Regions from separate parts of the Homo sapiens genome. Here regions 2, 3, 4 and 5 are each linked to region 1. Evidence: promoter capture Hi-C in 16 types of primary human blood cells and fetal thymus (Javierre and others, 2016). All regions are on one chromosome and are shown on one strand. The core of a region is centred on a gene start or on the middle of the fragment in contact, and the rest is flanking DNA. Distances in the headings are between cores, read along the strand shown.

Evidence for each region. The method cuts DNA at HindIII sites, captures the fragments that hold promoters and counts their contacts. A CHiCAGO score of 5 or more calls a contact.
Region 2: a fragment that was not itself captured here is called in contact with the fragment with the promoter of RPS19BP1 in region 1 in 5 of 17 cell types (naive CD4 T cells, total CD8 T cells, naive CD8 T cells and 2 more); the score reaches 5.4 in naive CD4 T cells.
Region 3: a fragment that was not itself captured here is called in contact with the fragment with the promoter of RPS19BP1 in region 1 in 1 of 17 cell types (total CD8 T cells); the score reaches 5.3 in total CD8 T cells.
Region 4: a contact is called between a fragment that was not itself captured here and the fragment with the promoter of RPS19BP1 in region 1, in 13 of 17 cell types (naive CD8 T cells, naive B cells, total CD4 T cells and 10 more). The highest score is 12.8, in naive CD8 T cells.
Region 5: a fragment that was not itself captured here is called in contact with the fragment with the promoter of RPS19BP1 in region 1 in 1 of 17 cell types (activated CD4 T cells); the score reaches 5.1 in activated CD4 T cells.

The regions. Positions count from the first base shown.
Region 1 is chr22:39,529,446-39,534,786 of GRCh38, reverse strand. RPS19BP1 (ribosomal protein S19 binding protein 1) reads left to right here and starts at 2,039. Exons shown (of 4, transcript NM_194326.4): 1 at 2,039-2,100; 2 at 2,264-2,392; 3 at 4,870-4,967; 4 at 5,164-5,341. The coding sequence starts at 2,049. The coding sequence ends at 5,295. RefSeq lists silencers at 1-43, 2,115-2,274, 2,455-2,584 and enhancers at 1,845-1,894, 1,945-2,004, 1,794-2,309, 2,310-2,825, 5,075-5,324. The HindIII fragment of the contact is 8,920 bases long and covers 1,091-5,341 here.
Region 2 is chr22:39,959,425-39,964,867 of GRCh38, reverse strand. It overlaps GRAP2 (GRB2 related adaptor protein 2), which reads right to left. Exons shown (of 8, transcript NM_004810.4): 4 at 4,694-4,813. TMA7B (translation machinery associated 7 homolog B) reads right to left here and starts at 4,471. Exons shown (of 2, transcript NM_001396013.1): 1 at 3,949-4,471; 2 at 1-948. The coding sequence starts at 493. The coding sequence ends at 299. RefSeq lists an enhancer at 5,324-5,443. The HindIII fragment of the contact is 1,251 bases long and covers 1,803-3,053 here.
Region 3 is chr22:39,920,397-39,925,404 of GRCh38, reverse strand. The region is part of intron 1 of GRAP2 (GRB2 related adaptor protein 2); the gene reads right to left. Among named protein-coding and RNA genes, the nearest start is that of GRAP2, 22 kb to the right of the region's middle. RefSeq lists an enhancer at 4,278-4,327. The HindIII fragment of the contact is 2,365 bases long and covers 1,865-4,229 here.
Region 4 is chr22:40,031,733-40,037,232 of GRCh38, reverse strand. FAM83F (family with sequence similarity 83 member F) reads right to left here. Exons shown (of 5, transcript NM_138435.4): 5 at 1-5,500. Among named protein-coding and RNA genes, the nearest start is that of TNRC6B-DT, 10 kb to the left of the region's middle. The HindIII fragment of the contact is 9,682 bases long and covers 1-5,500 here.
Region 5 is chr22:40,001,237-40,006,654 of GRCh38, reverse strand. All of the region lies in intron 1 of FAM83F (family with sequence similarity 83 member F), which reads right to left. Among named protein-coding and RNA genes, the nearest start is that of FAM83F, 9.0 kb to the right of the region's middle. RefSeq lists enhancers at 311-810, 811-1,312. The HindIII fragment of the contact is 1,169 bases long and covers 3,201-4,369 here.

The sequences.
Region 1 (5,341 bases), core at 790-3,289:
GCCTAGATCGGGAGGAGGACAGAGCTTGGTCCTTTGCCCTCCTGAGAGGCTGACTCGCTGCACATCCCACGACCTCCTGGGCCTCAACCCAGCGGCTCACTGGCGTCCCAAACTCAGCTCTCATCCACTCATTTCGTGCGTTTCTGAACTCTTACCGTATGCCAAGCACTGTTCCAGGCGCTAGGGATATAACAATGAACAAAACAAAGATCCCTGCCTTGCGGAGCTTACAGTGGGGTATGGGCGGGGAAACAGACAATACGCAATACACATAATAAGTAAGACAACAATCCGGCTATGTTAGAAGCAGGAAGGAGGCATATGTCTGAACAGTCACTGGGTTCCAGGCCCCACACTCCCCTTAGGACAAAATCATGGAGTCTGAGGCCTTTGCGACCCTCCAGCCCAGCATGGCATCCTGAAGGGCCACTCGTGTGTCACAGGGGATAGGTCCTCGCTACAGCGGTCTCCGCCTAGAACAATCCCCGCTGCCCATACATGGTCAGCTCCTCCTCACCCTCCAGGGGCCTACCTGACCCCATGGCTTGACAGGCCCCACCCAGCACCACAGCACTGCTCTCCCTGGTGGCTGGGACAGGAGCGCCCCCACAAATCCTGCGGCCAGGCTGCCAGTCTTAACTCCCACCCCTGACTCCACCCGTGTGACCTTCGCCTCTCTGTGTTTGTTTCCTCGTCTGTAAAATGCAAAAGACAATTCCTACCTGGAAGGGTAGGGGGGATAAACAAGTTAACAAATGTAAAGCACGTAGAACAGCACAAATGCTTGAGTTTGTGTTGGTTGTTATTATTACTCTCTAGCCGATGGAGCTTAAACGGTGTGGTCTATCCCGGAGGACGAACTCCAGGTCCCACACTCTGTGGTGTCAAGTACACAGAAGGCCCTCAGAACCCGGCTGAGTGAACCCAGTGGTCCCTTCTGATTCACCGTTCACTTATTGCGTGTCTTCTCCATGCCAGGTGCTGGGCTGCCAGCTGCAGATGGAGCAGCGAACAAGCCCAGGGCTCCTCCCCCAGGTAAGCAGTGTCACTTCTAGGCCAGAGGGGCTCAAATGTTTTGGTCTAAGAAGCTTCTTACATTTAAAACTTCAGAATCCCCTCACTCCTGTAATCCCAGCACTTTGGGAGGCTGAGGTGGGCGGATCACTTGAGGTCCGGAGTTCAAGACCAGCCTGGCCAACATGGCAAAACCCCGTCTCTACTAAAAATTTTTTAAAAAGAAAATTAGCCGGCCGTGGTGGCGGGCGTCTGTAATCTCAGTTACTCGGGAGGCTAAGGCAAAAGAATCGCTTGAACCCGGGAGGCGGAAGTTGCAGTGAGCCGAGATCGCTGCACTCCAGCCTGGGCGACAGAGCGAGATTCCGTCTCAAAAAAAAAATTAATTTAATTAAATAAAATAAATTTTAAAAAATTCAGGATCCCAAAGAACTTTTGTATGTAGGCAACTGATATTTGCCATACTAGAAACTAAAACAAAAATTTTACATATTCATTAATTCACTTAAAATGACAATAAACCCATTGCTTGGTAACATAAACAACGTATTTTATGAGAAATAATTGTAGTTTTCAAAACAAAGATATGTCTTTAATGTCTGGCTTAAGGGAAGACAACTGGATTCTCATGCTGCACTCAACCTGTGCGATACCTAGTGCTGGTTGAAGTATATGAAAAACACTCCGCCCTGTCCCCATCCTAGCCCGCCACGGAGCCACGAGACCCGAGAGGATTGGCCAACCCGGCGGAGCAGGTTGCGGACGGCTTCCGGGGAAGGAGGGGACTGAGCGCCAGGAGCCAGGTAGATTGGGATTGAGTAACACATGTGTCTTTCTGCGCCTTGGACCCGCCTCCAGTTTCCGCCCCTTCTTCCGCTCAAGTGTAAACCCCTAACGCATGCGTCCTAAGAAAGATGGGCACTTCCGCCCATCCCCCTCCGGATCCCTCTGTTCGGGCTCGGGTTTCCGCCGAGACGACAGGGACTGCCAGGTCGGAAGTAGTGTGAGGCTCGTGGGCGGAGCCAAGCGCCGCCATGTCCGCCGCCCTGCTGCGGCGGGGCCTGGAGCTGCTGGCGGCGTCCGAGGGTGAGGAGGGCTGGCCAGGGGACGTCCGGCGCGGGCAGGAGGATGGTAGTGGCTGCGGGCGGGAGCCCTGGATGGAAAACAATCCAGGCCGGGCTTAGCCCCAGTGGCATGGGAACGCTGCGCGCCCTCTGACCTGGGTCTCTTCCTCTCTCTTCCCCTACAGCCCCCCGGGACCCTCCAGGTCAGGCCAAGCCGAGAGGGGCTCCGGTGAAACGGCCCCGGAAGACGAAGGCAATTCAGGCCCAGAAACTGCGGAACTCGGCCAAGGGAAAGGTGCCCAAGTCGGCACTGGGTAAGTTCGGGAAGGGGCTGAAAGTGCTGCCTCCGGTGCTGGGACCTGCGCCCCAGAGGAGGTGGCGCTTGAGGCAGGGCTTGAAGCGTTCGCCCGGTATTGCTAGACCTACTGTGTGCCAGGCGCGGAGCGGGGCCCTGGACATACGAAGGTGACAGAACACGCCACCGTCCTGGTCCTCGTGGACTACGGCCCTAGTGGGGAGAGAAGCATCAAAGAATATCAAACCCAGTGTGTCATTGCTAAGTGCATTGAAGCCTATGAATTAAAAGACTACGGTACTCTGATGGGGACTTAGGCCAAGTCAGCCTTCTCTGAGGAAGCGACATTTCAGCCGAGAGCTGAAGGATGTATAAGAGTGAGCTAGGTGAAAAGTAGGAGAATATTCTAGGAAGAATAGTATGTGCAAAGGTCCTGAGTCAGAAAGGAGGTTGTTGCCTTTGAGAATTTGAAAAAATAAAGGCTGGTAAAGGTGACCTAGTGAATGAGGATCAAAGATGGAGCATTTAAACACATTCACTAACACTCTGTACCAGGTGCTGATTCTAAGTGCTGTACAAATGTAAGCTCGTTTGATCCTTACAGCAGCCCTTTGAGGTCGATACTACTATCACCCCCGTTTTACAGATTCAGAAAAAGGCACCTGCCCAGGTGGTACAGGCATTGTGGCTGCCCGGGCATTGTGTCTCCAGAGTGCTGCTATTACCTACTCCATTGAAATAGGACATGCTGTGGCCTGGGCAGTGGCTATAGCAGCAGAGATAACAAGAGAATTGTGCAGGTGGAAAATATGTTAAAGAGGGGGCAGCAGAGAATTTCAGCCTTTAGAGGGGTTTTAGTGGTGAATTGGCTGTGAAGGTGGAGCCTAGTTTCTTGGGGGACGTAGTGTCACTTAATAGACATAAAGACTTTCGGAGGGGCTGGTGTAGGCAAGATGGTGATATTTTGACATGTGTCAGGACGTGGCAAGCTCTTACTGTGTCTGAATCCCTAGAGTCTAATGCATAAAAGATGTTAAAGTATTTGTTAAAAGAATTATGAATTCCAAGGAGGAAATACAACTTAAGCCAAAGTCTGGAGGCAGGAAAGTGAGACAGGTTTGAGCCCCAGCGATACTTGCCATGAAGCAGGAGTGTGGAGTGCCAGAGGTCATTCCCATCTGTCCCAGCCCTTGTCTCACTGTCGTGTCCTGGGTGCTCACCCACCTCCCCTGTTGGATGGAAGCTCCTAAAGGCACACACCTCCTTGGGCTTGTCCGCAGCCTTGGTGTCCACCACAGGTTTTGGCACATAGATGCTGAGTGAGAGGAATGGCAAGCCTCGCAGCCAATGGAAAGAACACCTCTGCAGCTGCCACTTTGCTCCAAGCTGCATCGTCTCTTGCCTGAATTATTGCAGAAGCCTAGCCGGTCTCCTGCCTTCCACATGCCCCTCCCCCCGTAATCTTGTTCTCAACAGCAACCAAAGTGATCGTGTAAAATCAGAAGTCATTCCTTGTTTTTCCTCTGGGTGGCTCTCATTGTAGTCACTAAAAGGTGGCGGTCTTAGGGTGCCTGACAAGGGCTATATGACCTACCCCCACCCCCAGCCAAACTTGGTCTCTTCCTGCTACCCACTCCCCCTACTCCAGCTGTTTTTGTTGTTGTTTTTGGTTTGTTTTTTTTTTTTTTGAGATGGAGTCTTGCTTTGTCACCCAGGCTGGAGTACAGTGGTGCAGTCTCATCTCACTCCAACCTCTAGCCTCCCGAGTTCAAACGATGCTCCTGCCTCAGCCTCCCGAGTAGCTGGGATTACAGGTGCCCACCACCACACCCAGCTAATTTTCGTTATTTTTAATACAGACGGGGTTTCACCATGTTGGCCACGCTGATCTCGAACTCCTGACCTCAGGTGACCTGCCTGCCTCGGCCTCCCAAAGTGCTGAGATTACAGGTGTGAGCCACCGCACCCAGCCATTCCAGCTGTTTTGTGTTTTTCAAACACATTTGACACATTTCTGCTTCAGGGCCTTTGCACTGGGTGTTCCCTCTACCTAGACAAATGCTCTTTCCCCGGATATCCACAGCTCTCTTCGAGTCATTTCAGTGAGACCTTCTCATTCCCTCCTATTTGAAATTGCACCCTCCACCCCTGGAATTCCCCTTTTCTGTTTCCTCTTTTGTTTTTCTCCATGAAATGTTTGCGCTTCTAAAATACTGGGTCCTTTGTCCTTCATCTCTCACTGAAGCGAAAGCTCCAGAGTAGCTCCCTTGGTGAGTAGTATTCAGGACATAATTGTTGGAAAATGGGGGTGGGGGCCAAGAGCCTGGGGCTTTCAGCAGGACCTGTGTGGAGAATGCATTTGATGGAGAAGAGCCCAGCCGCTGTAATAACCTGGGAAGGGAACGATGAGGTCTTTGGCAGGGCCATGGGCCAGGGACTGAGAATGGTTCCAGGGGGAGTGAATCTGAAATGGTGCTCCCTGCCTGCTACCCACAGACGAGTACCGGAAGCGAGAGTGTCGAGACCACCTCAGAGTAAACCTGAAGTTTCTGACCAGGACGAGAAGCACCGTGGCTGAGTCTGTGAGCCAGCAGGTTGGTCGAGGGTACTATAGGAAGGGACCTGGGAGGTGAGAGCCGAGGCTGTTCCCCTAGGGACCCATGGCGGTCTCAGCCCTGAGCATAGGGTGGGAGGCTGGGCCAGCCCTGCCCTGCGCCGAACTCCCCTGTGACCTTTGCGGGCCTCCTCTGCTCTTGAAATGATGGGCCCTCGGTCCCGCACCCTCGCCAGATTTTGCGCCAGAACCGGGGCCGCAAGGCCTGTGACCGGCCTGTGGCCAAGACCAAGAAGAAGAAGGCTGAGGGCACCGTGTTCACCGAGGAAGACTTCCAGAAGTTCCAGCAGGAATACTTCGGCAGCTAGGCTCCCTGGAGGGCACGGTGAAGAGGCCTTCAAGCCCTGCAGCCTC
Region 2 (5,443 bases), core at 1,179-3,678, 430 kb before region 1:
ACAAAGTTTAGGGTAGAACAACGACCAAAGAGCAGATTCTGGCAAGATTCTGAGCTGGTTTTACTTTAAATTCACAGTTATGGTAGGAATGACTTAGTGAAAACAACTAAAGAGATGATGAGCCACTGGAAGATTTTTTTTTTTTTTTTTTTACAAAAGTTTATTCTTAAATGTACAACAGCTCCAAGACGACACTTAATTCCAACTATAGGTGGCAAAAGATATTATAGGAGGGAATAGAGAGGTTTAAATACGGATGAAATAAAGGGTCACCGTCTCCTTAGGCACAAGGAACAGCTTATTTTTTGCCAGATTTCTTAATTCCACCTGTGGCCAGAGGCCCCTTCCCCACGACCTTCGCTTTTAGCACCTCGAGTTTCTTCTGCTCCTCTTTTTGTTTCTGCTTGAAAGCCTTCTCTTCCTCGTCCATCTCCTTGGCCTGCTTCTTGGGCTGTTTCAGTGCCTTCTTCTTGCCACCTTCGTGGCTGGACATGGCGCCTGCCGCCCCTTCCCCAGACCCTGCCACTGGACGATAACTTCTTTTAGATCAGCACCTTTTGTTGCCAGTCTGGACTCACAAGTGATGGGACACATTCGAACCAGGGCTAGAGAAAATGGATTTTATCCATCTAGGAAGGGTGGGCTGAGCCTTTACCATTAGATCCAGTTTTACTTCATTGCCAAGTCATTCTCTTTTGGATGTAAAGTTTATTTTTCAAACAGACATACATTTATATCTAAAAATAAACTGGCACTAGTGATGCCAATTGCCTGATGTAAAAGAAAGGTCAAGAATTTTAAAGGGTCTCGGAGAGTAAAGATACCTCTGAGAGTAAGTGGAGGTTTCTTTTTGAGTCAGAGTCTCGCTCTGTCGCCCAGGCTGGAGTGCAGTGGCGTGATCTCTGCTCACTGCAAGCACCACCTCCCAGGTTCATGCCATTCTCCTGCCTCAGCCTCCCAAGTAGCTGGGACTACAGGCGCCCGCCACCACGCCCGGCTAAGTTTTGTATTTTTAGTAGAGACGGGGTTTCATCGTGTTAGACAGGATGGTCTCGATCTCCTGACCTCATGATCCGCCCACCTCAGCCTCCCAAAGTGCTGGGATTACAGGCGTGAGCCACTGCGCCTGACCATGGAGGTTTCTTAGGGATGGATTTAGGGACCTGTGTTAAGAAGGAGATGGAAATTCTGACCCTCAATCTCATCTTATGTGCTGGGATTTGCTCATAGCTGGGTGAAGCCACAGGTTGTACAAGTGGCCTCTTGCTTGACTGATTTCGGGTGGTAATCAACATATTGCAATCACTTTGTGGTCTTCCCCTTGGTTTTGGCCACCAACAGATACTTTCTTCATTCTAAGACAACATGGATCAACTCAAAGTCATTATCCTTCACATCCAGGTGAGGAGGAGAAAATATTCTTGTGATATTATAATTTTTCATCCACCACCTCAAAGAACTCAGAGTGTGAAACATTGACCCTTTTACTCTCATAAGCTGTAAGGATGGGTGTGAGGGTTGCAGCTGGTTATCTGGGTCTACAAGGAGAGGATGGCCTGACCATTGTCTCAAGCCTGAAGAGGAACAAAGGAAAGGATGCGACTCAGGGCGCTGGACTCCAAAATCTGGTGTTTCAGGCCCTTAACAAATGCTGAGTGATAGAACTACAATTAGCTCTTAATTATCTGTGCCCATGACAGATGTAAAAATAATTAATAATGATTTTGCTTTGGAAAATATTATACTACATTTCTGCAAAGACGTGATAAGGATTACGGTAATTGTCACCATAACTAGAAGCTTCATCGCCTGAATATCAGGGGAAGACTTCGGTAGAAGTCAAGGCCTACTGTTTTGTAGAACTCACTTTAATTAAGGAAATATAAACCATAGTTCTGGGTCCGGGCACAGTGGGTCGCGCCTGTAATCCTAGCACTTTGGGAGGCTGAGGCGGGTGGATTACATGAGGCCAGGAGTTCAAGACCAGCCTGGCCAACATGACGAAACCCCGTCTCTACTGAAAAAAACCACACACACACAAATTAGCCAGGCGTGGTGGTGCGAACCCATGGTCCCAGCTACTCAGGAGGCCAAGGCACGAGAATTGCTTTGAACCTGGGAGGCGGAGGTTGCAGGGAGCCGAGATTGCGCCACTGCACTCCAGCCTGGGCGACAGAGCGAGAGTCTGTCTCAAAAAACCAACGAAACCACAAAAACCATAGTTTCTAGCTGAAAAAGCCAGAGTCATCTTCATGCAAACCAAAGGCCCAAGAGATACCCCTCAGTCTAACAAATTACTTGGTCAAGTTTATGATGGGGTAAAGAGGGGAGGCTTAAGAAATAGATTTGACTTGTAATATATATACACGCATGTTAAATATATGTATAATTGTTTTTTCTAATAATATATGTATATAATATATGTAAATAATTTTTTTCTCTTGAGACAGGGTCTTGCTCTGTCACCCAGGCTAGAGTGCAGTGGTGCGATCGATCTTGGCTCACTGCAACCTCAACCGCCCAGCTCCAACAATCCTTTAACTTCAGCCTCCCAAGTAGTTGGGACCACAGGCATGCGCCACTGCACTGGGTTAATTTTTTATTTTTAGTAGAGATGAGGTCTCACTAGTTGCCCCGGCTGGTCTCCAACTCCTTGGCTTAAAGCATTCCTCCCAACTCAGCCTCCCAAAGTGCTGGGATTAGAGGCATGAGCCACGGCGCCCGACCCTGACTTGTAATATATGTTAATGGAGCGAAATTTCATTAATTAAGACCTAACAAGATTAGAATTTGTGATACATCAATATTGGCCTGAACTAAAGTTAACCATTCTCCAAGCTATGAAAATAAAGTTTTTACTGAAGAAAAGAGTTTAAGCAAGATTGCAAGGGCAATGCTAAAGAGACCACTTTAAAGGTATGTATGCATACAAATTGTTGACCTGTTATTTTTAAGTCCTTCCTACCTATCCTTTCAAATATCCATTCTTTCTAAACAGCAAAGTGGCCACAGTTTATTACTTGAGATTGGATTTCTGTCCTTAAAACAAAGCTTTATGCCTTTCAAAATATATTGAATAAACCAGATCGGTATTTCCTGCCAATAACTTGACAGTAAGGTTTTGCTGTACTTCTCCTGATCTGCTAACAGCATTATATTCTTGCAGTTTCACATGTGGTGAAGTCTGATACGTGACTTGCGATCCTCAACATGCTGACCACACACAGTGTGTTCCGAACTGGGCTTCTGAGTTTGGGGCTGTGTAATGTCTACGCGTGGACTGAGTCACTTCCTATGGGTTGCTGCACCTTAGTGAGATTTCGCTGTTACAGTCCTCCCCCACTCCTGGCCCTCTGTTCTGTGGTTTTCGGTCTTGCTGTACTGTACTGTGTTGAAGTAGCCTTTCTTTTTGTTCAGCTGCCTACAACTATACATGTATTTGTTGGGGCTCAGAAAACGACACCCCTTGGCATGCTGAGTGCTTCGAACCAAAGGAGATGGGAAGGTTTCAGAAGCAGCCTTGGAAGCAAAGTCTTCCTTTGGCCTTCTCCTGCCCTCCTGTCTCCCGCTCCTCTTTCTCCCCCTGAGTGAGTCATAGAAATTAGAATTCCTCTTCCCCACAGTGGGTCAGAGAGACTAGAAGGGTCACTATGGGGGAGGCCAAGGCAGGAGGATTACTCGAGGCCAGGAGTTTGAGATCAGCCCAGGCAACACAGTAAGACCTAGTCTCTACAAAGAAATAAGTTAAAAAAATATTAGCCAGGTGTGGTGGTGTGCACCTGTATCCCCAGCTACTTGAGAGGCTGAGGTGGGAAGATGGCTTGAGCCTGGGACACAGAGGCTGTGGTGAGCAATGATTGCGTCACTGCACTCCAGCCTGGGCAACAGCTGTCTCCAAAAAAAAAAAAAAAAAAGAAGACTTGGGACAGGCCTTGTTCAGTTTCCTACCTCAGTCTGTTACCTTAGATCAAACCCCCTTTGTCCAATCCCATTTCTACAGGGCTGTCTGTCCTTTGACAAACCTAAGCATAAAAATAGACGGCTTTCCCTGGGTCTTGGGTCTTCATTTCTGAAGGCTTCTGTGTCACACAAGTCTTTGATTAAATAAATGTGTCCACTCTCCTCTTGTTAACCTGTCTTGTAGGAGTGTCAGCTGTGACTCCTCTGATGGGCAAAGAAAGGTGCCACAACTTTTCCGCCCCTGTATATCCTACAGCAGTGACTTGAGATTTCTATTTTTCTCTGACTCTTCTTCAGATATGCATCAATCATAAAAGAAAAGGTTAAGATTTAAACCCCCAGATGGATCTGGACAAGTGGGAGTTCTCCTCCTCCTATCCCTCCTTCCTTCCACAAATACTCACTGAGTGTCTCTCTTTTATGCAAGACACTGTTAAAGGCATAAAGATGAAGTAGAGGAAAATCCTGCCCTTCCAGAAGCACCTGGGCTAGAAGGGGAGGCAGATGGGCGTAGAAATAATTTCAAACACACACCAGTGTTCTAAAGAGTGGTGTGTGCATGTTTTGGGAAGGCACTGGGAGCAGCAGGTTGTGAAGCTGCTGCCATGCTTGGCCCCTAGGCCACCATGCTTCTGACCATTGGGTCATATTCCAGAGGTCCCTTCATGGCTTCAGCATTCTGTGAGGTTAACAGGCCGAGAAGGGCCAAGGCAGTGTCAGGAATGGTCAGTACCTGACAGAGATGGAGAAGTCCCCTGGGGAGCTCTGGCTGGCCCGGATGATGAAGAAGCCAACCTCCTTGCCCATGAGTAAGTTCTCTGCCTGGTGTCGAGAGAGGCCTTCGTGAAACCATCTGTGGGGGCGAGATCAAACAAAAGGATCAGGATGAGACACAGGAGTGACAAGAGGGAGACGTGGAGAAGAGGTGACCCAGAGGGAAAGAGGCTGGGGACTCTGTACAGTAGGGAGCAGAGAGAGACCAGGTGCTGTTTGAAATCAAACCAGTGCTCCAGGCAGCTTTCAGGAAAGGCGAGGGAGCATTCCCCTTGATTCACCCTCTTTGTTCCTTCTCTCCAGGAGAAGTCTCTCTCCAGCCTGGGAAACGAATCATGGAAATGTGTCGCTGCACCAAAATGGGGCAGTGTGGGAGTGACTCACTGCAGGAAGCAGCCGCCTGCCGGCAGCTGCGGAAGAGATAGACCAGAGCTGCGAGGACAGAGGATGCACTGGGGAGGGAAGGGAAGGCTTCAGGCACTGGAGCCAACCAGGTGCAGCCGGCTGAGCAGGGCCTGGGGTGCTCATGCCTGCCCTGAGGTCTCAGTGGCCTAGAGGTTCCTCCCTGGGTATTAAAGGAAAGTTACAGCCCAGGGCGTCACGTTACCTAGGCTGGCATGGAGCACAAGGGGGCTTTGCTCAGTGTGCCTAGCAGAGGCTGCAGTGTTCCTAGGGAGTCCAGTGTACATGCTTGGAAATCAGCGAGGCT
Region 3 (5,008 bases), core at 1,798-4,297, 390 kb before region 1:
CAGCACACAGGATCACAATATCACTGTCTTACAGTGCAGAGACAGTAGGCACATTGAGGCAGAATTTCATATGAATCTGTAAGAAGTATTCACAGGAATGTAATGTATGATGGAGACATCCCATTGTCCCCAGCCTGGGTCAGGGTCTCATGATCTCAAGTCTGAAACATGTCCAATTAATTTGGAGCACTGATCCCTGCTAGATTTAGTTTCTCAAAAGCACTGTTCAGCTCACATCATTTCTACTCAAAATCTCTTAATAATTCCACCTTGCTTGTAGAGTCAAGTCCAAAGTCCTTAGAGTGGCATGGCATTCAAAGTCATCCTCAGTCTATCCCCACCCTGCCTGCCGTAACCCCCACCTGAGCTTTGATTCACAAATGTTCCCACCACTCTGCCTTTACTCACTCTAGCTCCTGACTCTTCAGGTCCAGCTCAAATTCAAGTCCATCTCCTTTAGGATTACTGTCTTGTTACTCCTGTCCTCTTCTGAACCAGTGCAGAGCTTACTATGTTGTTCATTGGTGACTATTAACTTCACTTTGTGGTTTGAGTTTTACTTCTCCAGCTACCTTGTAAGCCCCAGAGGATGGGAACCCAGCCTCACTCCTCTTTGCAGTCTATGGACTTAGCACATTGTCCTGCTCACATTAAATATTTGCTGATGAATGGGTATCCTACATTGTCACTTCTTTTTTTTTTTGAGACGGAGTCTCGTTTTGTCACCCAGGCTAGAGTGTAGTGGTATAATCTTGGCTCACTGCAACCTCCGCCGCCCGGGTTGAAGTGATTATCCTGCCTCAGCCTCCCGAGTAGCTAGGATTGCAGGCGCCCACCACCACGTCCGGCTAATCTTTTGTATTTTTAGTAGAGATAGGGTTTCACTATGTTGGCCAGGGTGGTCTTGAACTCCTGACCTCAGTTGATCCACCCACTTCGGCCTCCCGAAGTGTTGGGATTACAGGCATGAGCCACCGCGCCCGACCATGCATTGTCACTTCCGTGAGCCTACTGCGTAAAACTCATGGAAAGTACGACCGTGGTGATGATTGTCACAGTGCTACTGCCCGAAGTTCTTTTTCCCTCTTCTAGGAAAAAAAGCGAATCTTGGAGAGAGAGGCTTGGTATGATTACTTGGGAGTAATAAGAATGTGAAACATTTCTCCCGCGATTTATAAACAGTATTTTACATGCATTTCCTGGGAGCTTAAAGTTCATCCAGAATGAGTATTTCATAGATCAAAGGAGCATATGTGCAATCCACCAGGAGGAATAATCACTCTGCTAAATTTAAAGGGAGAATGATTGAACACTCCAGCCTGAAAGTAGAGATGGTTTAACGTCACATGGCTGGAGAAGAACATGAGTGACTTACTTAATTTCTGGCCCCCTACGTTCAGTTTTTATGGTACATACGCCAGTGAGCAGCACGTGGGATTTTTCATAAAAGAGGAACTGGCATTAAATCAATAAGGAAAATCACCATTTCCCTACTGATCCAATGGCATTTAAGGAAGCTGAGCCCTGCCAATATGTACAACTGTGCAGAATTTGTAACCGGGCAGTGAAAACCACCATCTAAGCTGGCAGCTGTGACTTTCCCAGAAGTAGAGCTGCAGGGAGAAAAGTAGCTTTTAAACTTCAGTTCCATTTTTGCAAATTGGATCTTTTTGTAAAAACTGTTTTAAGTCCAGATTTGTTTGTTGTTTTCCTTTTCTTTCCTCATTAGTAAAGGAAATGACTGTTTCTTTTTACTCAGATGGAAATTCAATCATTTACTCGATAATTGGGAGTCAAACTTAGTTTTAAGGGCTAGGAATGGAGATGAGGACAAAAGAGACAAAATCCCTGGCTTCAGAAAGCTTACCTTCTAGTGGGGAGGCAGGGGAGACAATTAATAATCTTGAACCGTAGATATATACTATGCTAGGCATAGATAACTGAAATAATGCTAGCATCTCATATTTGAAAACACAATTGCCAGAAAATGAAAAATGAAACCTCCTGCATGAATACTATCTTAGCTCATGTATGTCCCATATATTAAGAAGTATTTTAAAAAGAATAGCTAGTAAGAAATACACACATATTGCTCTTTGCACATGAAGTTGGCCTTCCCTACTGACCTTCAGCAGAACAGATGTCTCAGAGGTGCATTTCTGAGAGATGGATTTGTGCCAATCTATATATTTCATTCTGGCACTATCTGGCACCACTGCCCTCACAGTTATCCAGGCCAGAAATCTGGAAATTTCTTCTGGACTCCTCCGTGTCTTTTCCTCCCCTTTCTCAAATCTGGTATCTTCCACTAATGGGTCTCTAAACACTATATTTTAAATATACCTGAATTTTTTTTTTTTTTTTTAACTGAATCTCACTCTGTCGCCCAGGCTGGAGTACAGTGGAGCAATCTCGGCTCACTGCAACCTCCGCCTCCTAGGTTCAAGCAATTCTCCTGCCTCAGCCTCCCGAATAGCTGGGACTACAGGCGCATGCCGCCATGCCCAGCTAATTTTTTGTATTTTAGTAGAACGGGGTTTCACCATGTTGCCCAGGCTGGTTGTGAGCTCCTGAGCTCAGGCAATCCACCTGCCTCGGCGTCCCAAAGTGTGGGGATTACAGGCGCGAGCCACCGCACCTGGCCTAAATATACCTGAAATTGATTTCCATCTTTCCATCAGCCCTCCTTTGTGTGGGCTTTATCGTCTTTCCCCACAACCCTGGCATCCTACTTCTCCTTCCTGACTCTAGGCTCAAATACCTCCATTCTCCCCTCCTCATTGCTTCCAGAGTGATTTGTGCAAAACAGATCAGACTGTGCCATGTCTCTTCTTGCACTCTCCTCTGGCTCTGCACACCTGCAGGATAAAGCTCAGGCCTCCTAGCCTGGCCTTGGCTGACCTGGGTAGCTTTATGACTCTGCTCCCTTCCTTGACCCTGTGCCTCAGTCACAGCAGCCCCATGTAAGGCATGTAAGGTTACCTAAATTTACAATGTGCAAATCATCCCTGAGTGTTTCTTCTTGGACTATTCTCCTTTTTGTACTCCTCAATTCTTGCCATCCTTTAATATGGTGCAAATGTTACCTTCTCTGTAAAGCTGTTCCCTGAGCTTAATCCTCCCTCCCTTCTGCCCCAAGGGTACCCTGGCCTCATCTTCTCATTTCAAGTATGGCACCCAATGGAAAGGCATTTGTAATGATTTGTTTGCTTGTGTGTCTTCTCTCTCAAGCTGTAAGCTCTCCCAACTGAGAAGTATCTTCTTTGTGACTTTACAGCATAGCCCAGCCTCTGGCATACAGCAGTCACTTAGTAAATGTTGAATGAATAATGAATGAATGACCTATGGTCTCTTCTGGTTTGGCTTGTGCTAAACTATGCATCTGAGAATTAGGTGGTTTTGGCAATATGATGGAGTGAAACCAACTGACAATATGATGGAACTCAACTTTGCTCTTAAGAATAAGAAGTTTTGGGGAGGCTTAGGCTGGAGGATTGCTTGAGCCCAGGAGTTCGAGCCTGCAATGAACTATAATTGTGCCACTGCACTCTAGCCTGGGCAAAAGAGTGAGACCCTGTCTTGCAAAAATAACTAAATAAATAAATAATAAAAATAAAAACAATGGGTTTTAAACATTTGAGCTAATGGACCACAGATGATAAGGAATTTCAGTAACACATTTTCCTAGACAATATTTCTGTGTGTACTACATCTGGAGATGGTTCAAATAAATGATTAAAACATGTAAAACAGAACCATTAAGTAATCTAGATCATTTACTACAAAAGAGAAACTTGAAGAGACTTAATAATGGTTTTTAATAAAAGATTGTACTCCAAGGATGGCTAAACATCCTCCTTCTCCACAAACACAAAATAAGAAGAAATGAGATGAAAGCGCTTCAAAGATTAAAGTCAAAAACAAAAAGGAATTGAATGGTTTCCTGCCAGGCAGTGTAAACCCATTTCAAGTCACTATTACAGATAACTCACATTCGGAATCAGGCACAGCTCTAAATGCTTGCTATGTATTATGTCATCAATCAATCTAATTTTCATAATGAACCCATGCAAGTTTGTTTTAATTTTATTATTCCCATTGTACAGGTGAGGAAATAGAGGTTCAAGGTGGTTAAGCAGCTAACCCAGGTCACACAGCTGAGAAACCATAGAGCTGAAATTCAAATCCAGGCTGGCTGGCTTGTGAGGTTTTGGTCCGACTTCTAAGCTTCCTGCCTTGCTAGAGGCTGACATAGATGTCAGACCTCTGTCTGGGGATGGAGGCCTGAAGCTAAGCTCAAGAAAGCTCGAGAAGTTCAAGTGGCTAGCTTAAATTTAAACAAGAAAATCCTTGAATATACAAACGATTCTTCATTGCCAGGGCAACCAGCTCTCTTGAGGTCGTTACATCAGATTGTGTGTGTGTGTGTGTGTGTGTGTGTGTGTGTGTGTGTGTGTGTGTCTGTGTAGAGAAGTTAAATACCCATTTTTTGTATTCTTTATTCTGGTGAGCTGGCCTATCAGGTCTTGTCCTGCTAATGAGACAGTAAGTCGTTTTGACTTTTTTTTTGGCTGTCAGGGCATGCACGGTTTCAGCATCCACGTGTGTGTGTGTATTTATAAGACCTGACATGAATCGAGCCATATTTAGATATTATGACTTTACCTCCAGAGTGACGGAACTTACTCTGGGGGTTGGAGAGTCAGCATCTTCTTCCCTGTTATTTTTTCCAAGGCAAGCTTGTTTAGCCTGCCTCTGGGGCACATGAAGTGGGGTCACAGTCAGCACAGAATGGGGGCAGCATGTTCTGCAATTCAAATGCAACTCAAATGCCTGTGCCAAAGAAAGTCAACACTCATCTGATGGGCAGCAGAGAGGGGGCTCGAACACTGAGCTGCACCCCGGCTGCAGGAGGCCTGGAGGCTGGTTCCGGAGAACCAGGCAGCCCAGCAGGAGCCCCGTGAGAAGGGTGGGAATGAGTCACCAGACTTTTCAGGTTGATTGAGGT
Region 4 (5,500 bases), core at 1,321-3,820, 500 kb before region 1:
ACCAGGCTAATTTTTGTATTTTTAATAGAGACAGGGTTTCACCACGTTGGCCAGGCTGGTTTCGAACTCCTGACCTCAGGTGATCCACCCACCTCGGCCTCCCAAAGTGCTGAGGTCACAGGCATGAGCCACCGCACCTGGCCGGTTTTTGCATATTAAAAGAATATTACTACTTTGTGATACATGAAAATTATGGATTCAGATTTCAGTATTCATAAGGTTTCACTGGAACATGGCCACACCTGCTTGTTTCTGTACTGTCTAGGGGTGCCTCAGTGCTATGACAGTAGCTGCAACAGACACACTGAATGTTCACTTTTTGGCCCGCCACAGAAGGAGCTTGCAGATCCCTGCTTTGGCCGTCTAGCTGACCTAGGGGAGGAAGGACGTATGCTGCCAGCCAGCCACAAGGTGTCAGCCTCTCACCATGATGCTGCCAGCCGCGTGGGCTTCTCCAAGTTCTCCAAGGCTTCTCTCCAGGGCCACCTGCGCAGGACCAGGACTGTGGCCCCTAGACCCCGTCCCACCAGGCTATAGTCACTAGTGTGAAAGCCAAAGACATCAAGGCGGGGTGTGGAATCTACATGAGGAGTACAGGCCTGGCTTGGGAAGCCCCATGGCCTGGAGAAGGGTTGGCAGACTTCTCCGGACATGCTCTGTTTCTTTGATTTAGGTTTTATTTGTATTTTGTATACAAAAGATTCTCCAAACAAACTAAAATTGTTTATTTCACCACAAACTATCAATCCAGAAAGGTTGTGGGACTTTTGCACAACCAGATAAGACCGCAGCCCTCTAAGGATGAACCTGCATGAGGGGAACACAGGTCCCTGCCAAGCAGAGTGGCTCCGAAATGGCATCTCTGGCAGGTTTTCTCTCCCTTTCTGTCGAAACCTGGGCCTTGGCCAGGTGTGGTAGCTAATGCCTGTAATCCCAACACTTTGGGAGGCCAAGGCGGAAGGATCGCTTGAGGCCAGGAGTTCAAGTCTAGCTTGGGTAACACAGTGAGATCCTATCTCTACAAAAAAATATTGAAAATTAGGGCAGGAGCGTTGGTGCAAGCCACTACTACTACTAGCTACTTGGGAAGCTGAGGATGGAAGATCTCAAGGAACTCATTGAGCCCAGGAGTTTGAGGCTGCAGGAAGCCATGATTACGCCACTGCACTCCAGCCTGGGTGACGGAGCAAGATCATCTTAAAAAAGCAAAAAAGAAAGAAAGAAAGAAAAAAGAAACCTGAACTCTGTAGCTTCCTTCAGGTGAACAAGCAGTTAGCCCTGTGTGCCAACGATTCAATATGAAAGTGGTAAATTTCACAGGGAATTAAAGGGGAGGATCTAGGAGAGAAGATCCCAAAAGGAAAATAAGCCACTGGAGGTCACAACCCTGGAGGCTCCTCCGATGCCCAGCTGTTTGCGTCAGCCCCTGTGCTAGGTGCTTCACGTGGTTACTCTGGAGAGTCGTCTCGAGATCATCCCCATTTGACACATGAGGAAACAGGAAAGTTCGGGGATGTGAAATTGCTTGCTGGGGTCATTAGCTGTTCGGTGGCAGAGATAGGATTTCAGCCCTTGCCTGCCTGTTCTGAAGCCTGTCCTCTCTATGCCATGCGCCCCCGCCAAGGTCATGCAGGCATACCACTTCAATACCATGCCTTCCTCGCTCACCATGGATCCCCAGGCCGGGCACCCAGCAAATATCCACCGGATGAATAAATGGGTGCAGGCCTGCAAGCACTGCAGCGAACCTTTCCCTGTGCAGTCGCCTAACTTCCAAGACACTTCCAGGAAGAGATGAGGCAGAGAGTCAAAGCTGCGAGCAGGAAATAAGAATCATGACGCATGGTTTTCTGCACACCATGGGCTCTTTTCCCCTTGCTTGTACCCACAGCACTGTGGGCACCGCGGACATACTGCCTGTTCTTGCCTTTTGCTCCTTTCCTCCCCCAGCTCCCACGCGCTTGCTGGCTTCCGTGGCAGGCCCTAGCCCATCTCCTTCTATTACGTGGACATCTGCTCCTAAAGCTGCTTTTCAGTGGCTGCAGGCAATGCCCTAACTTCTAGCCATTTTTCTAAATGAAAACTTGATTCCAGCCGGCTGTCACTGTGAAAGTGCTCTAGGACGGTCCAGATAACCAGATTCTAGCCCTTCCTGCGACTCATTGGGTGACTTTGGACAAATTTCCTCACCTTGGGCCCTCCTTTCTATGCTAGCTTTTGAAAGGAAGCATGCAGACAGGGCCATCCTTGAGCAGCTAGAGGCCTGCAGGCCCAGTGCCACCTAGTCTGGACCACCCAGGAGATGAAGACCATGCACTTAGGACAGATGAAGAAAGGAGAAGCCTTCCTAGAGGAAAGGATTAGATCAGGAGGGACTTTTGATAAACCCAGTCCTTAAGAAATTAAATCACAGCAGAACCCCATTTGGCATATACGGTATTAGAAGTCAGGAATGAGACAGAAAGGGTCATGATCAATTCTAGAACCTCTATGACACATCCTGTTTATTCACCTGGCTAATTCTCTGTACTGAATGGCAGTCAAGTCTTCAATCATTTAACAAATAGGTATTAAGCATATATTGTGGCTGCAGAGCTGAGCCAGGCAGGTGAGGCACCAGTGCTCACAAAGCCCGCTCTCCAGGCTCAGGAACCCCAAGGACAGATGGGTACCTATCGTGCCAGGCAGCAGCACATGGCATCTAGAAGCAGGGCTTTCCTCAGTCCCTAGCTGGGAGAGCAGAAGCTGCAAGGGGAAGGGCGAGAAGTCCAGGCCTGCCTAACTGTGCAAGGTCTCTGGGCTGATCTCATGGTTACTTAGCCCCAGAACATACTCACGGCTGTGCCTGCCCTTCTTGCCCTTCTCCTCACTCAACCTTGGACTGGTTCTGCTCACTGAGCTGGGGGTACCTGATTTGCAGCAAACCTCCTGCCCCTGGAACAGCAGTGCAGACGATCAGCAGCAGCCACTACGTCCTTTGGGCAGGGAGGCAGGAGTGTGGCGCACTGCCAGATGAGAAATTGCATCCCTAGCGCACGGCAGGGCTAATTAGCTGCTAAGGGGGCTTTGTCAATGTTCACTGAGAATGTGGTCATGACAGGCAGGTAGCGATTCCTGCTTGGCCTGACTTGAGTGTGGAAGGCTCTCTGCTGTCAGCACTGGCTGCTTTTGGAGGTGGGTCCACCGCTGGGCACACACAGGTATGTGCAGTGGTACTGTCTGTGCAGGACGTAGCTGAGCCTGAAGGAAGAGGGACAGACTGGCAGGAAACCTGACAGGGAGCTGAGTGGAGTGAGGCAGATGTGTGTACATAAACACACCTGTCATGGGGAATATAAGGTGGTAAAGAACTAAGAAAGATAACCAGAACAGAAAGGAAAGATGCTACTGCGTCTCCCAGGAAGCAGCGTCTCAGGCAAGTCAGCCAACCTCTCTGGGCCAGGGTGCTGTGTCCAAGGTACCCAGGGCAGAGAGTGCATTGAAACACTTCGGAGAAGTGGCCTGTGCAGGCCACCAGGTCAGGACTGTGAAGAAAAGAGCCAGTGCTCTCAACGGGGGCACTTTTACCCCCCAGGGGACATGTGGTAACATCTGGAGACATTTTTGGTGGTCTCATCTGAAGGAGTGCTAGTGGCATTTAGTAGGTGGAAGCTAGGGATGTTGCTAAACGTACTATAATGCACAGGGCAGCCCCATCCCCAACAGAGGATTCTGCAGCTCCAAAGCATCACCATTGCCAAGACCCTGAGCTCAAGGAACAGACTCAGACCTGCATTCTCTGTGACGTGGGATCTGGGGAGAGTTGTGTGCCTCCTCATCTGAAAGATGGGGATAATGAACCTTAGCCAGGCTGGGCGTGGTGGCTCATGCCTGTAATCCCAGCAGTTTGGGAGGCCAAGGCAGGCAGATCACCTGAGGCCGGGAGTTCAAGATCAGCCTGACCAACATAGTGAAACCCTGTCTCTACTAAAAATACAAAAATTAGCCGGGCGTGGTGGCGCGTGCCTGTAATCTCAGCTACTCAGGAGGCTGAGGCCAGAGAATCACTTAAACCCAGGAGGTGGAGGTTGTAGCGAGCTGAGATGACGCCACTGCACTCCAGCCTGATCGACAGAGCAAGACATTGTCTCAAAAAAAAAACAAAACAATTACTTGCGCTTCTCATCATACAACCTTATGAGACCCACTCCCCCAATACACAGGAAAACTGTTACCTTTCTAAAGGGCTCTTTGTTGAGCTTTTCTTAGTTTGAAACCTTCATGTTACTAAAGCATCTAGCATGGTGACTGGCATATAGTAGGTGCTCAATAAATATGAAAAAGAGAAAAGCAATACAGTAGTAAACAAAAACAAAACAAAAAAATAGCCTGGCCGGGTACGGTGGCCTGTAATCCCAGCACTTTGGGAGGCCAAGGCGGGCGGATCACAAGGTCAGGAGATCAAGACCAACCTGGCTAACATGGTGAAACCCTGTCTCTAATAAAAATATAAAAAAATTAGCCAGGCATGGTGGTGGGCACCTGTAGTCATAGCTGCTCAGGAGGCTGAGGCAGAAGAATGGCGTGAACCCGGGAGGCGGAGCTTGCAGTGAGCCAAGATCGCTGTCACTGCACTCCAGCCTGGGCAACAGGGTGAGACTCTGTCTCAGAAAAAAAAAAGAAAAAAAAAAAAGAAATAGCCCACTTTCCCCTCTTTGGCCAGTTTCTTCCATATCTCTGGGTCTCATTTTTTGCCTAGCCTTTCTATAAAGTTCTACACAGGCAGAGGGTAGTGATGTTAACAGAGGCTATCTTGAAAGCCCTCGAGGGGTCAGGGATAAGATTAAGGACAGGTAGCTAAGGAGATGGGAAGTTTTGCCAAATCCCAAGGGGCAGGCTCCCAGATCCATCCAGAAGTCCTGTGCTTACTGCCCTTGTGGGGCAGAAGCAAGCGTGGCGGCCGCACCAGGGGCTCAGCTCACTGGGAGGTTAGGTTTCCCAAAGAGCTGCACCAGCTGTGAACACTTACCCTACAGAAGCTGACTCAGAAAGACAGCAGCTTGGTGGTGGTGTGGGGTGGGAGGGGGGTGCAGTGAAGCCAGACCCCAGCCCCGAGAGTGCTGCCTTATCCTGTTCCTCCTAGAGCCCTTCCAATGTAACCAGCCTTGCAGAAGCTGCTGTGCAGGGACCAAGGGCATGATCCACCCTTGAACTTGCCATCCAACTGGGAGGGCCAGATGTACCCTTGAGATTTGATGAGTAAGAGACTGCTTCACAAAGTATGTGCAAGTGCTGGAACAGAGGGCAGGCGTACTCACAGCTGAGAAGCCAAGAGGCAGAACAGAGTGGGCCGGTGCCTAGGCAGACAGGCAAACATGAAGAGCTGCATTTTGTGAGTTCAAAATCCTTGCCATCTCGGACTACAGTTTCTGTCTCAAGCCTTTTGGAGCGGGGGGTGCCGACACCATCTTGTCCACACTGCTATAAGGACGAGGACACAGGCCAGCAGGGAGAGGCACCC
Region 5 (5,418 bases), core at 2,536-5,035, 470 kb before region 1:
TACCCCACAAGATTATTTGATGTTCTCCAAACTCACCCAGCAGGCCCCGGCTTGTGCCTTAACTCACACAGTCACTCTCTAAGCCTGTAGTGATGGGAATGCTCTTTGTTGAGGTCCTTGTTTCACTCTTCCCAGGGCTGTCCCAGGATTGTCCTCTGTCCTCAGTCCCCAGTGTAGTGTGTGCCTTCCCTAGGACACATGTCTGCCCAGTGCTGTGTCTGTCTAGGCACATGAGGGTGTCTCCCCATCTATCCAGGAGGGGTGGGGGACAGAGCCCTGCCATCGATCTAAACAGAATGCCTCCACATAGGTGGCTTCCCTTGGGGAGCTGAGATGTGGCTTGGGCCTGAGTCCTGGTCCATCAAGAGGGCAGAGCCAAATCCAGAGCTGCAATAGCATCTTTTTTTTTTTTTTTGAGATGGCATCTCACTCTGTTGCCCAGGCTGGAGTGCAATGGTGCAATCTCTGCTTACTACAACCTCTGCCTCCCGGGCTCAAGCAATTTTCCTGCCCCAGCCTCCCGAGTAGCTGGGATTACAGGAGTATGCCACCACACCTGAGTAATTTTTATATTTTCAGTAGAGACGGGGCTTCGCCATGTTGGCCAGGCTGGTTTCAAACTCCTGACCTCAAATGATCTGCCCGCCTCGGCCTCCCACAGTGCTGGCATTACAGGCGTGAGCCACCGCGCCCGGCTACAACAGGGTCTTGTTCCCCACTTGGAGGCGAGGCTGCCCCCACCCCAGCAGCAGAGCATCTGTGCTTCGTCCGCTGGGGCTTCCCAGCTATCTGTGGCCGCGTTCCATTGTCTTGGACTCACTAATTAGACATCATAAAACACTGGGCTCCCTCCCTACACTGGCAGCAGCAGAGCCCAATTCCACCCAGCCAGGCCGCTTCCTCTCCCAGAGCCCTCTACCTCAGTGTGGGGCTCTGATTCCGACCCTGCAGGTCAGGTCTCCCTGCTGCAACCCCTGGGGCTCACTCCCTGTCGAGCTGATCCAGTGAGGCCATCACTCTCGACAAGGTTGAATGAAGGAGGGTGTATGTACAAAGGAGACCCAGGCTGGCTCTCCAGAGGAGGAAGACAGATGGCACCCATGTGAGCAAGGCCAGCTAATTCAGCTGTGAACAGCCACGTGTTGTGACCTGCCAGGGAGTAGGCAGAGCAATTCTTTGTAAGATCCTAGGCCAGCTTTTCCCTGCCCCACGGCAAGCTTCTGGGATGACTTTCCCGGCACTAAGTTGGTGTTAATTAGTGAAAATTATCTAATGCAAGCTCATTTTAACATTAGCTTAAAGCCAAACATAATTAGAAAGATAAATCAGTGGCTAAAAAAAATCCAAAGAAGATACACAAGCGATTTTTAGGATCATCTGCTGGTTGGTGTTACTAGCCTTGAGCTCTCAAGTACATGGACAGAGCGAGGCAGGGCTCAAGAAATATCTGTCGAGGTATTTCTTGATTGATCTATCAGGGTAAGACAAATGGAGTTGGCAGTTTGCCTGGGAGGTGCTGAGACGCAGCAAGGATAACTCTGTGGCTATTGCCAGATGATGTTACCTGGGAGGGCTTCCCTACGGAGGCAAGTTGAGAGTGCAGGGAGGGATATGATTGAAAGTGATCAGGAGGGCATTCAAGTGATGGAAACAGTGTGAGTCCACGTGTCCTGGGCCTCCAGTTTTGTACACAGCCTGCCCTGCCTTTCCACAACTGGCTGATTCAGCCATCAATTCCCAGGAAGCTGCTGTTCACCTGGAGCTCAGTACAGGTGCACAAGCCTGAGAATCGACACATCTCAGTTCCCATCTAGCATCCTATTTACTGGTGGTGTGACCTTATCCTCTCTGAACCTCAGTTTCCTCATCCGTAAAATGAAAAGCTGCTAGATTGTTGTAAAAAAATTAAATGGAATAGGCTAGGCGCGGTGGCTCACGCCTGTAATCCCAGCACTTTAGAAGGTCGAAGAGGGTGGATCACTTGAGGTCAGGAGTTTTGAGACCAGCCTGGCCAACACGGTGAAACCCCATCTCTACTAAAAATAAAAAATTAGCTGGGTGCGGTGGCTCACACCTGTAATCCCAGCACTTTGGGAGGCTGAGACGGGTGGATCACCTGAAGTCAGGAGTTCAAGGCCAGCCTGGGCAACATGGTGAAACCACGTCTCTACTAAAAATACAAAAATTAGCCAGGTGTGGTGGCACACGCCTGTAGTCCCAGCTACTTGGGAGGCTGAGGCGGAAGAATCGCTTGAACCCAGTAGGCAGAGGTTGCAGTGAGCCGAGATAAGAGTCACTGCACTCCAGCCTGGGTGACAGAGCAAGACTCCCTCTCAGAAAATAAAATAAAATAAAATAAAATAAAATAAAATAAAATAAAATAAAATTCTAAAAGGGCTGGCATTTGCCTAGCACTTATATGCCCAATAAGTAATAGCTATCAATATCCCCACCCCTACCACTGTGCTGAAATTTAGTTTCTTTTTGTCACCCCCCATTAGACTTAAGGCAGAATTCTCACCGTACTCCTCTGTAAATTTCTGGTTCCTGGCACATAGTTGGGTCTCAGTGAAACATGGTGAGTGAATGAGCAAATGCAAGGAATCTCCAGGCCATCTGGGAGCCCTCCCAGGCGGGTGAGTTCGGGAAACTCATAGTCTGTCCTCAATGGCCCACTGAAAGGTAGAGAGTTCTGGGTCCCACCTCCGCACCCCCATCTCCTGACTCACTGCTGAAAAATAAATAAATAAATAAAATAACACTTATCCGGAGCCTCCCACATGCCTTGCCAGGACTGCAAGGAGCCCAGCAGAATGATGACCGGCGTGCAAGCTGTGCCCCGGCGTGCATATGTTTCCAGATTATTGGAAACCTGGGCCAGAGAGACTAATAATTAGAAAAGCCATAGGCTCTCTTCCAGGGCTAAGATTATGGGATCATTAGCAAGTCCACAGACTCTGATTTCAGAGAATGAACAAGGAAACTGGGAAGGGCAGCAGCTCCAGCTGAGGCCGGCTGGTCATGGCACCTGGCATGGTGTGTGGGGGTGGGGGCAGGCAGGGATAGCTAGAATGACTCAGCCTTGGGGGTGGCTCAGGACACCCCCCCTGAGCAGGGGGCAGGTGGTCAGCTAGGACGCAGCCCTGGGCTCATTTGTTCTCTGCCCTCCTCCCCACCTCCCCCAGCTTGGATTGGAAGCTTGTCCCCAAATAGGCTCTGCTTTGCACGCTCTAAGAAAAGGGAGGCAGATCTGGCCACCAGCCAAGGTGAGGCAGCATCCCTGGGGGTGAGAAGATGGGGGGACTGACAGTTGCTGGGCTAGGATTCACTTCAAGGTCTCAGCCTGTCAGGGAGGGGCGTAAGTCCCAGGGGGCCAGAAAGTGGCCATAAAGAGGACAATCTAGGTCTCTGGAGAAACTACCTGTACCCAGCTTCCCTGTGTTACCTGCCTCAATGTCACTAGGCAGGAGGAACCCTCTTCCCCAGCCTTAGCACAGAGTGGACCAGCTGGCAGTTGTGTACTTGTCTGTCTCTAGAACTGGTCCAAGAGCCTCCCAGGGCCTGGCTGGCGACATACAGACTTTGAATGTTTCTGCAAGTTTTAGAGGAAGAGATGGCCCCAGAGGACAATTCCCAAGGGCAACTGCCGTGGATGGACACCACTTTGAGCTGAGACCTGGGTGGAATCTCCCCCAGCCTCTTCTGAGTTCTGCAACCTTATGCTTTCCCGGAGCCTCAGGGAAAATATCTCTTCCTTTGCAAGGTGCTGAGGGTTGGATTAACGAAACGAAATGGCACACAGGGCACCGATCCTGTCACTCAACATTAGCCCTTCTTCAGAGAAATCCCTTTTACTGCACGCATCACTCACCCTTCTCAAAGTGCTTTCTCATAGCCTTGAACTAGGTTCTCAGAACAATTTGTGGAAATAAGAAGGCAAGAATTATCCCCATGTTAGAGATGCAGAAACAGAGGCCCAGCAAAGCTAAATGATGTACCCCACGTCACCCAGTGAGCTAGGAAAGAGATGGCCAGGGCAAAAATGACGATTCCCAGGCTCCTGGCTCCCAGCCGCATGGGATCCCTCCACCCGCCAGTGGCCTGGACTTTTGGAGACCTCCACCCAACAGAACTGGCTTTGCTACCGTGAACCTTCAAGAGAAGGTCATGAAGTTTACTGAGGCCCCAACTTCTACTTTTGAACTTTCTGGGAAACACCCATCCTCAGAGGTTCAGGGACCCAAAGTATCGGATTTCAGAGGAGCCAACTCTCCCCTCCCTCTTCCCCAAAGAGGGAAACACAGCCCAAGGCAATGATTACATCAGGGTTAACCATCAGCAGCTCCACCCTCTTGTTCCAATGAAAGCTTTAGTTCTCCAGAACTAAAAGAACTTGGGGAGTCTTTCCAGGCTGCCCTGGGGCTCTCTGGGCTGGGCCTGTGCAGCAGTCTGGCCCTTCAGGATGACCGTGTGTGGGGAACATCCTCAGGGGACCCCCGCTTTAGGAACAAGGAAGCCTCTGCACCTTCCTGCTTTATCCCTCTCTGCCCATGCCAGATCCCAGCATAGATCCTGGGCTGAGGATTCCAACGCCACAGCCTCCCGAAGGCAGCTCGGAGGCCGGCAGAAAGCTGCCCTTACCAACCACGGCCCACCACCACCAAATCAAGGCAAACAGATCAATACAGTGAGCGGCTGGGAGGGCTGTGGGCAGCCACTCCTGTCTCGCTCAAAGGTGGAAACAGGAAACACGCCGGCACAGGGTCTTTGGCCCTCCCAATTCCCCTACCTCTAATCTCCTGGGTGGGGCTCCCTAACTTCTGGGGAGAAAATTTGGCCACCCTTCCCTCCTCTGCTCTGCAAAAAGGCAGAGATGACAGCAGTTACTTTCTAAAATAATGAACATTTGTATGATACTTTCCAGTATCCTCAGCTTTCACACATGGTTTCTCCCTTGTTTTTCTTATCTTTTTGGGTTTTTTTGTTTTGTTTTTTATTTATTTATTTTGAGATAGAGTTTCACTCTGGCACCCAGGCTGGAGTGCAGTGGCGAAATCTCTGCTCACCGCAACCTCCACCTCCCATGATCAAGCAATCCTCCTACCTACCCAGCTCAGCCTCCAGAGTAGTTGGGATTACAGGTAGACACCACCACATCTGGCTAATTTTTGTACTTTTTGTAAAGATGGGGATTTGCCATGTTGCCCAGGCTGGTCTCAAATTCTTCAGCTCAAGCGATCTGCCCGCCTCGGCCTCCCAAAGTGCTGGGGACATGAGCCGCCATGCCCCACCCTCCCTTGTTTTTCAAAGCCATCCAGGAAGCTCAGTATTATCTTCCCCATTTTATCAGCCAGGAGCTTTAGAGAGGGAGGTGATTTGCTCAAGGGAACACAGTGAGTAAGTGGTCAGATGAGGGCA